2 separate regions of the Homo sapiens genome follow, and region 1 is linked to region 2. The links are contacts of gene promoters, found by promoter capture Hi-C in human tissues and cell types (Jung and others, 2019). All regions are on one chromosome and are shown on one strand. Each heading gives the region's core, a stretch centred on a gene start or on the middle of the fragment in contact. The rest is flanking DNA. Distances are from core to core; before and after follow the strand shown. Region 1 overlaps CAMKMT (calmodulin-lysine N-methyltransferase). Region 2 holds the start of SIX3 (SIX homeobox 3).

Evidence for each region. The method cuts DNA at HindIII sites, captures the fragments that hold promoters and counts their contacts. A contact is called where the count stands out against the background at its distance.
Region 1: a fragment that was not itself captured here is called in contact with the fragment with the promoter of SIX3 in region 2 in 1 of the 25 tissues and cell types used here (H1 embryonic stem cells).

The regions. Positions count from the first base shown.
Region 1 is chr2:44,541,694-44,546,617 of GRCh38, reverse strand. The region is part of intron 3 of CAMKMT (calmodulin-lysine N-methyltransferase); the gene reads right to left. Among named protein-coding and RNA genes, the nearest start is that of CAMKMT, 180 kb to the right of the region's middle. RefSeq lists an enhancer at 1,784-2,562. The HindIII fragment of the contact is 4,043 bases long and covers 537-4,579 here.
Region 2 is chr2:44,940,022-44,945,081 of GRCh38, reverse strand. SIX3 (SIX homeobox 3) reads right to left here and starts at 3,380. Exons shown (of 2, transcript NM_005413.4): 1 at 2,172-3,380; 2 at 1-514. The coding sequence starts at 2,977. The coding sequence ends at 322. SIX3-AS1 (SIX3 antisense RNA 1) reads left to right here and starts at 3,204. Exons shown (of 2, transcript NR_103786.1): 1 at 3,204-3,372; 2 at 4,249-4,928. RefSeq lists enhancers at 1,613-2,337, 3,420-3,946, 4,715-5,060. The HindIII fragment of the contact is 28,963 bases long and covers 1-5,060 here.

The DNA.
Region 1 (4,924 bases), core at 1,309-3,808, 400 kb after region 2:
CCAGCTCACTTACTGAATGCTGAATATTGATTCATATTATGAGTGTTGTCAAACACAAGAGTGCAGTGCTGCAGATCCGTAGTGGCAGGTCATCAGGAATAGCATTAGCAAATGTCAGGTCAGGAATCAAAGGCCTGCTGGACTCTTTAGGGATGAGATTTATCGATTCCATAAAACGTGAAACAGATCAAGTACTTGTGATGATGGAAATGGTCGTGGCAGAATGAGGCTGAGCCTGCTCTGATGTAGACCTCAGGAGAGATGCATCACACAAGTGACCACTGAAGAAAATGCTAAAAGTTGGAATTTCCAGGACAAGGCCAACAGCGGCTTTGGGCTAAGAAGGAGATTTTAGGGCTAAATGTCAGAACTTAGATGTGAAATTGGTCATAGGTATAGGGGTATGTGCATGTATGTGTGTGTGTGTGTGTGTGTGTGTGTGTGTGTGTGTGTGTGTGTGTGTCCTAGCAGTCTAAGATAGCCAGATCCAAAAGAATATGATCAGATACTGATGAATGTTATAGACAAAAGATAACTCTCTATATAAAAGATGCAATTTGCTAATCTTACCTCTTACATAAAATTTTTAAGAGAAATTTACTTACAGTTTATTTTTTCTATTCTTTAGTCTTACTTAAAGTCTAAATTTTCCTCTGATAAGAGAAGGCAAAAAATATTAGAATCTTATAGCTTGTTCATCAAAGGATCACTGTAGACTTGTTTTAAATGAGTTGATGATCCCTCCTTTTGAAGATACTTAAATTATATCTGGCTTCTAGATTTTCATCATTAGAATTAATTTTTTAATCAAAGGCTCCCATACTGTCACTCCACTCTTGTATTATTCTACAAGGTGTCCATTAAAACTGTGCCTTCATAATCCCCTTCTCCCCTCCGGTATCTTCATCTTGATATAGTTAAAAAAAAAAAAAAAAAGACCGAGTCTAGAAGTTAGAACACCGGATTCTTCTAATCCTTACTCTGCCACTTATCTTGTGACCATAGACAAGTCACAACCTCCCTGTATCTCAACTTCCTCACCAGCAAAAAAAACAAAAACAAAAACAAAACAAAACAAAACAAAAACTGCATGTGTACTAGCTCTGAGAAAGGTTTTATACAGAGGATCAATAATAGACCATAAGTTCCACGAGGAAGAGCAGGGTACATGTATTATGACTCATTTTGATGTTCTCAATGCCTAGTAAAGAGACAGGCTCAGAGTAGTAACTGATTTTTTAATTTAAATAAAAGATGGATATACTTGGGGACTGTAAAGGTTTACTAAGTTTTATGTTTCTCTTATTATATGTTTATTTGCTAAGTGTAGTACTTGGTCTAGCATCACTGGGAATGTTTTGGAACTCGCATTGCTAATGGTGGTTTGCAGAAGCAATCCTTTCACCTCTCCTAAGAGCAGGACACAATGTTTTCTTTAATTTTGCCCCATACCGTGACAGAGCCTTGAGGTCTATGTAAGGGAAAGCTAGCAGCTGCTAAGTTCTAATTCTGTTTATTATATCTGAATAGGTAAATGTAAGTTGGTTGTCATCTAAAGCTTGAAAGAGTTTCTGCTCTCTATGGAAAATTTGCTGTTTGGACCAGTGTATTATGTCCTCATTGATTAGCTTTTATCTAAAAAGTAAATTTCAGAAAATTAAACAAAATTATTCTTTAAAAAATTATTTATAATAACCTAGTCATCATTGGATTACATCAGATAATTCTACCTCTTAAATAAAATTTTTAAAGGAAATGTACTTACAGTTTATTTTTTCTATTCTTTAGTCTTAAAGTCTAAATTTTCCTCTGATAAGAAAAGGCAAAAAATATTAGAATCTTATAGCCTGCCCATCAAAGAATCACTCTAGTCTTGTTTTAAATGGGTTGATGAGAGAAAATGAACAGGTGCTACAGATTACTTGGCTGATCTAAAATTAAAGATTGATATTTTTCCTCTTGTTCTATTAGCAGACCTTTAGTGACATGTTAGCACTGGATAATGGTTGCAGCAGTTTAAGCCTCATGCTGTGATTTTTAACAGAAAGCCTAGCTACAGCAGCAAACAATGACATCTCCCCAAAGCTAGTAACCTAATAAGGAAGCAGTTGCAGCCTTAGGCAGTTTGACTAAACAGCAAGAGAAATCTGACTTCCAATGTACTGACTCCACTTTAAAGACAATGGCCTGGCTTAATTAACACTGTATTCATTTGTAACTCAATCAATTGTAGAATTTTTGTCCTTTAACCATTGACTCTACCAGCTCAAAAAGAAAAAGAAGGCTCAAGCTGCTGGAAGTCTTGATTTGTATAAACAGGCATTTCTGAACCAGTGACAAAATAAATAACCCTTGGCATTAATTGCTAACTTTCCCAAATGTCCAGGTAATCACTGAAATAATCATTGACACAGGAAAAGAATTTCATTGACTATTTTAGGTATAAACATGGGATGTATTTAACATAATACCAAAATTTAAATGTTTTTCTCATACTCCTCTTTTGGGGAGCACTAAATTAAGAACATTAAGCCTACTCAAAAACGTCTTTTTCAAATTATTTTTCCAAGAGTAGTATAGTAGATTTTTGTCCAGAAAGTGTATGGAATCTCATAAACTTCATTTGACCTATCTTAGCCCCTGAGCTTTGGTTAAACCAATATTTGCTACCTTCTGAACAGAAACTAAAATAAATGCTAACTCGACCAGGTTATCCTACATTAACTTTGATTTTCTAAATACATCTGTCAACAGACAATGAAAGTTAAATAGATAAATGCTACTAAAATAGTATTCTGGCTTTCATAAGTGAGGATACAATTTCCAGAGAAATAAAATACATGATTACTACATTACATCAACTATGTTGTGTAAAAATTTGGTATTTTCTAATTTTCTATCTTGTAAAACCAACCACCTAGCTTTCCTGAAAATCCTTGCATTCTCAAAAATTATGCACCAAAAAATAATAATATGGCTTATAAGAAAAATAGGGTTGGGTTGGACCACTCAAAACTCTACCCGGCACATAAAGAAAAATAATAACAATACTAATAAAAATACTAGCATAGTTAATCTCAGCTGATGTTTACATTCAGCACCACAGTCAGTTCTTTGTAGCCTTAATCCTGGGGGCTCATTCTTCCTCCTTCTAGATATAGGTCCCACAGGGCATTTGATTCTAAAGAGACTATTTTATATTAAAATTAAAAGCATAACTAATCCAGAACAGAGCTCTCTTTATTAATTCATTGCTTTAATACAGGGAAATGTCTTTGCATCCTTTTCATTTGTGCTGGTGGCTACACTTACACGGCAGAAATCATACTGGAAGAAATAGAGGCTCTAAAAGGCACTAAATGAGCCACTATTTACACTAAAAGAAGGCACTTCTGTAGATTCTCAGCTTTTCTCTTAAGGTCTTCAGTAAGTAATGAGATTTCTCTTTAATTGGGAGAAAGTGTGCCCCAGTTGCTTCAAAGCATTAATTTAAAAAGCAGGAAAATCACATATAAATGAACATAATTTCCAGGTTATTCCTACTTTATTCCCCTAGTTAAAGATACTAGTAAACGATAATTTGCATCTAAGAAGCTATATGATACTTAAACTCGGTTCTCTATTTTAATAAGTAAGTATAACTGTTAAAAGCTTAATAATAGTGAGGAATGGAGGATGAAGGGAAGTAAAGTCTAAGCTCTCTAACCTGACACCCAGGATCTCCCGCCATCTGACCTAAATTAGTCTAGGTTTCCAGTTTTATCTCCCACACACAGCTCACCAGATGAAGCCATTCTGGGATGATCTTTTATCTGGTCTCTGTCTTAAGTACCCCATAACTGCTATCCTGAGACCCCAGTTTCTCGGAATACTGTCCCTGCTTCTAGGCCTGACAGTGGTTCTGCCTCTTCCAGGAAACCTCCCCTCTCCCTCTTCCTTCTTTCTCTGACCTCTTCTTATCTTGCAACTAACTCATTTAGATCTTTCTATATAATGCCTTGAATTGCCAGCCAAGTTTCTTTACACATGTATAGAAATATATACATATATGGAGAGAGAAAGAGAGAGAGAGAGAGAGAGTGTGTGTGTGTGTGTGTGTGTGTGTGTGTGTGTGTGTGTGTATGTGTATGTGTCTTACCTCCTGAGTTAGACTCTAAGCAACTTGAGTGGAGGTCTTTGCTGTCAGCATCTTCTATTTTTTTTGTTGCAACACCCAAATGCCTAGCAGTGTTTATGCATGGAAATATCTCAGTAAGTACTGGTTTGAGAATTTTCCAGTTGATTTTTGGGGGCCCTATATGGAAAACATTTATTTGTACAATGACAACTCTATGCTTGCTGCATAAACTCCAAATGACTTGAAAGAAATTATGTGCCTCCTTAAGCACCAAACAGTATCTGAAAATAATTTATGTTCACAGGGGAAGACTTAGATTTGAGCTGACTATACTGTTAGAGACAAAGATATGGCCTTTTTTTTTTTTTTTTGAGACAGAGTTTCACTCTTGTTGCCCAGGCTGGAGTGCAATGGCACGATCTCGGCTCACCGCAACCTCCGCCTCCCGGTTTCAAGCGATTCTCCTGCCTCAGCCTCCCAAGTAGCTGGGATTTACAGGCGCGTGCCACCATGCCCGGTTTAATTTGTATTTTTAGTAGAGACAGGGTTTCTCCATGTTGGTCAAGTTGGTCTCAAACTCCTGACTGCAGGTGATCTGCCTGCCTCAGCCTCCCAAATGCTGAGATTATAGGCGTGAGCCATCGTGCCCGGCCGATATGGCTGTTTTTACAGCTTTTCTGAAGTAATAGTCTTAGTAAAAATATATATGTATCCTTTTTTTTTTTTTTTTGAGACAGAGTTTCACTCTGCCACCCAAGCTGGTGTTCAGTGGCACACTCATGGCTCACTGCAGCCTCAACCTCCTGG
Region 2 (5,060 bases), core at 2,131-4,630:
TCTTTTATGTTTTCTGCCCGCAACATCAGCGTTTGACTGTCTGTTGGCGTCGGGGTCCTTTGGGGTGGCCGTAGTGGTAGATGGTGGTTGGGGGTTGTTGATAGTTTGCGGTTAATTTGTTATTTTCTTGTTTTTTATATATTTTTGGCTGGGGTGGGAGTGTGTGTGGACTTGTATGTGTGTATGGTTGGGTATCCTGATTTCGGTTTGTTCTGGGGATGGAGGAGGAGAAGGAAGAGGAGGAAGAGGAGGAGGGCTAGGAGGCGGAGGGGAAGGAGTGGGGGAGGAGGGGAAGGAGAGGGAGGAGGGCGGCCTTGGCTATCATACATCACATTCCGAGTCGCTGGAGGTTACCGAGAGGATGGAGGTGCCGGTGTCTGCGCGCTCCGTCAGGCTGGACACGCTGGTGGTCGGGCTGGCCGCCGTGGACGGCGACTCTGCCGAGCCGTGCGTGGGGCAGCCGGGCTCGGCCAGCGAGCGCATGCCGCTCGGTCCAATGGCCTGGTGCTGGAGCCTGCGGGAGAAAGAGATCCGCGCCCGCCCTGACACAGAGGCCCGCCACCCGGCTCCCCCGCGCCGCCGCTCCCCATTCCGCTTTCGGGAGCATCCCAAGTCTTCTCAGATAGAGGCTGGCCTCGGAGGAGAGGCAGAACCCGAGCCCGGCCGCTTGGGGAGGCCTGGGTGCAAGCGACAAAGTACGCCAAGCCCTGGAGAAGCAGAAGTCGGAGAGGAGCCGGGCGCTTCTTCCCTCCGCAGTCCCTGGGGCTCTTCAAACTGAGCCGGCTGCCCCGCGACCGGTCGAGTTCCCCTAGTAACCCCGTCCCTGCTCCCTCAAACACACACCGGGAGCTGCGGGTTCCCCACCGCCCGGCCAGTCTCCGGGTAGAACTGCATACTTTGCTCTCTGGATGCCAGCGCAGAGCGCAGGACCGAGGGTAGAGAAAATAGGAAAGCTGGCGGTGGAAAAGTGGGGAAAGAGCAGGGAGACAGAAAAGGGGCAAAGGAGAAGGCAAGAGAGGCGCACAGAGCAGTCTCCAGCTGCCCTTTCCCCCACCGGGAACCTTCTGCCTGGACCTGGTGTCTGGAATTCTCTCCACAAGGAGGCCTTGGCTTGACCCTGGGCGCTCCCCTCATCAGACGAAAAGTGGGCTCCACGGCAGGGGTGAGAGGGCCATGGGCTCAGGTCCCGGCCGCCTAAACTCGAACACACCTCCAGAAACTCACACCCAGCCCCCACCCACGGGCAGCTGTCAGCAGCTGGGGGTCCTGCTCCCTGAAGTACACCAGGCCCTGGGCCTTCCTGGCTGGATAGAGAAAGACACAGGCTCCACATCAGGGCTTTCACCCAACTTCCTCTTTTCTTTCTCCCTTCTCTCCCCACTCCTTTCGCCTATCCACTTCTTTCCCTCTGGTTCTTTTTCTCCTTCCCCCAGGCCCAGCTCCTGTGATGTTGGTCAAGCCCTATACAATTTTGTGACTTTGTGGCCAACTTGCCGGCAACGAGGCTGCTCGTGCCCGCTTCCCAGCTTAGAGGACCAAAGGGATTCTCCTCGGCTGAAACAGGAGGGCGAGTACATGCACACGGGCGTGCACACACACACGCACACGCACACGCTAGGCCTCTCCACTCCCAGCCCGGCTCTCCTGCTCCCGGTCAGGCAACGTGCAGCGTTGCGGGGAAACAGGCCCGCTGCGCAGTGGCCTCTGGCCTTTTCCCCTTGTGATAGGGACCCAGGTTCACTTTCCTCTCTCTGACGCTAGTGGATTTCTCTCGGGGTTTTGCAACGCACAGAAATAAGAACCAGATGGCAAAGAGTGCTTTCCTTCCCTCCCTGTCTCTAGGCTCCAGAGGATCGCCGAGCTGGCGGCAGGGCTGAGGAGGCAGGCACGGGTGCAGCGCAGGGCTAAGTCTCCCAGGGGCTGCGGGTACTCGGGTCGCAAGCACACACTCTCTGCCCTGACGAAAGCCCCTCTTGGTCAAAGCAATCAATACACCCACAGCCAGCCCGGCCCCCTCTTCCGCGCGTCCCGGACAAGCGGAAACTTTCTCCGACTGGCCAGGAGTCACGGCTTCCCTGGCTCTCAGCGGCCGCTCCGCTAGCCCCATCTCAACCCCTCTCCCCTTCCCAGGCCTCTGAGGCTGTAGCCAGGCCGCGGGCCCCGCCACTAACCTGTTCTTGGCCGCCGCGGCGCGGTCGCGCTGCCGCCGGTTCTTAAACCAGTTGCCTACTTGTGTGGGAGTGAGGCCGGTGGCCTGCGCCAGTTCGCGTTTCTTGCTGGGGTTGGGGTAGGGGTCCTGTAGGTACCACTCCCGCAACAGGCTCCGAGTCCGCTCCTTGAAGCAATGCGTCTTCTGCTCGCCGTCCCAGATGGTGCGTGGCAGCGGGAACTTCTTGCGCACGCGGTACTTGTCCACCGGGCCGAGTGGGCGGCCGCGCAGCTTCTCGGCCTCCTGGTAGTGCGCCTCGAGCCACATGGCCTGCAGCTTGCCGTGAGACTCCTTGGTGAACTTGTGGTTCTCAAGGATGTGGTAGAGGTCGCGGAAGTTGCCCGTGTGGAAGGCGACCACGGCGCGCGCGCGCAGGATCGACTCGTGTTTGTTGATGGCCTCGCACGCCCCGGGGGCCACGGGCAGCGACCAGAGGAAGCGGCCCAGCCGCTCGATGTCGCCCGTCTCCTCCAGCGTCTCACAGACGCTGGCCACCTGCTCCGGCGAGAAGTTGAGGGTGGGCAGCTGGAACATGGACAACTCTTCCGGGGGGGCCCTGGAGCCGCCGCCGCCGCCGCCGCCTGCTCCGCCAGCACCGCCGCCTCCCGCACCGTTCCCGCCGCCGCTGCCGCCTCCCGCGCCGCCGCCGCCTCCCGCACCGTTCCCGCCGCCGCTACTCGCCAGAAGTATGGAGCGGTGGTGAGAATCGGCGAAGTTTGGCAACAAGAAGTGGGAGGAATAGAGGTCTAGGGGGGAGCGGAATACCATGGACTGACCTGAGAGGAGAGGAGAAAATTCAGGGAGAGGAAGAGAGAGGGGAGGAAGAGGAGGAGAGGGGCGATGAGGACCAGGAGGAGGGAGAGGAGAGGGGGGAGGAGGAGAAGGAAAGGAGGGGGGAGCAGGAGGAGGAGGGAGAGGAGGAAGGGCGTAAGGGACACCCACACCCCACACACATCCACACACACACACACCCGCGCAGCCACATAGAGAGGGAGGTAGGAGAGCGGCCCGGTGCGCGCGCGCAGAGAGAGAACCCGAGACAGAGAGGGAGAGGGAGAGGGAGAGAGGAGAGGGAGAGCCAACCACCGCCGAGTCAAGATTCAGCGATTCCACCGCAATCGCCCTAATGACAACAGCCTCATAATATCTCCCCTAAATCCACAGTGAGTGCAGCATTGAAACATTTTGTTTCGCTTTTCTATTGGTCTGTGGCGTGTCGTTGTGGCGTTGCCACGGCAACCACTGCCAATCACTGTCAGCCCTGCCAATCAATACCGAGAACGTAAGGACGGTTTTACCACTTAGCCAGAGGGCGGGGGGAGGGGGAGAGCAGGGAAGGAGGGAGAAGTGGGGGGATAAAGAGAATTTTTTTTATCTTTGCAACTCTTAATCTCGCTACCTCCCCCTCCTCTCTTCTCTCTTCTCCCTCTCTCTCCTCTTTTCTCTACCGCTGTCTCTGAGACTTCTTCTTCCCTTTTTCCTAAAGAAGTTGATCCAGAAATTCGAAAAGCCCTGGGCAGAGTTGTTGAATGGGATGTGCAATTAGAGAGGGGATTTTGTTGGGAGGCAAGAGGGTCCCCCAGGCTCCACATAGTCCAGGTCGGCAGGCAAGGAAAGACGGCTGACCAGCCCAGCGGGCGCGGTTTGCACATGGTTTGCACGTCGGGCCGCCTCTTTCTGCCTATGTGAGCACTAATAGTGGCAAGGAAGAAAGGAGAGATGAGATCATGGGGCCCACCAAGCACCGACCTTGGCCCAGCGGGCCGTGGCGCCAGCCGGGGATCCCGGATTCCGAGGGTATCTGGCGCCAGGGAGCCTGAGCCCAATTCCCAGGGTGCTGGAGGCCGCTCTTGCCTCCCCCATCGGTGCCCATGGACCGCATTCACCTCAACTCCCTCTTCATCAATTAGGCTTCTCTTTACTCCCTCCCCGGCCAAGGAGCCTCGATTTCCCCCACCACCCTGTATTTTAAAATAACAGTCCAAACAGTACACTTCTTTCCATCTTAAGAAGCAACTCAACTCTTTGTTTCTTCCCAGAATTCAGCTGCCTCTCTGAGGAGTGGTGGAGGAGCTGCGGGAGCCGAGAAGCCCAAGAGCCCTCTGGACCCAGAAAAGTCCTACAGATGCCCACTCCTCACCACACAACAGAAGGAGCTCTGGTCCTGCCTGCCAGCCCCAGAGGGCACTCAAACTTTGGAGGCCAGCCACCCGGATGAAGTGAATAAGGCCTGAAAATTGCTTGTTTGCTCGTATTGTAAAATAATAATAATTACCATTATTATTTTTAAACTGTCTAATTTCTCTAGGGAAAGTAACATCGAAAGCCTAAAACAGACGCCAAAAGGCCCATAGAACACAGAGGGCCCTCTCTGCCTCTGGCCACCACAGCCCCTAGGCCAGGCATGGGTATTTATTCTTAGGTATGTTGCTTTTAAGAAGCTGTAATCAGCATCTTGAGCCGGGCCTCCCTTTGTGAGGCTTCTGTAACTATGGAAGTGTGATTTACGCAGATTTGTCGGGGTCAGAGACGTCTTTCCCTGAGCACTGTGTATATTTAGACAGGACTCGGTTTGGTGTTAAAAAGTGTATATGTTGAATGGATTCACACACAGTAGCCAACAATGACCACATTGTCGGCCCGTGTACAACGCGTATTGAAACGCAGCGCCCAGACTTCAACTAATCTGCCCTCAATAAAGCTGAAATAATTATCCTAAGCTGCCTTTCCAGAAGAAAAATCATTGAGGAATTCAAAACTTTTTTTTTTTTTTTTTAAAGATCTTTTCTGCATTCCGATGCAGATCTGGGGGCAAGGCGCCGTGTCCACACCACTTTGGTGATCTCAATGA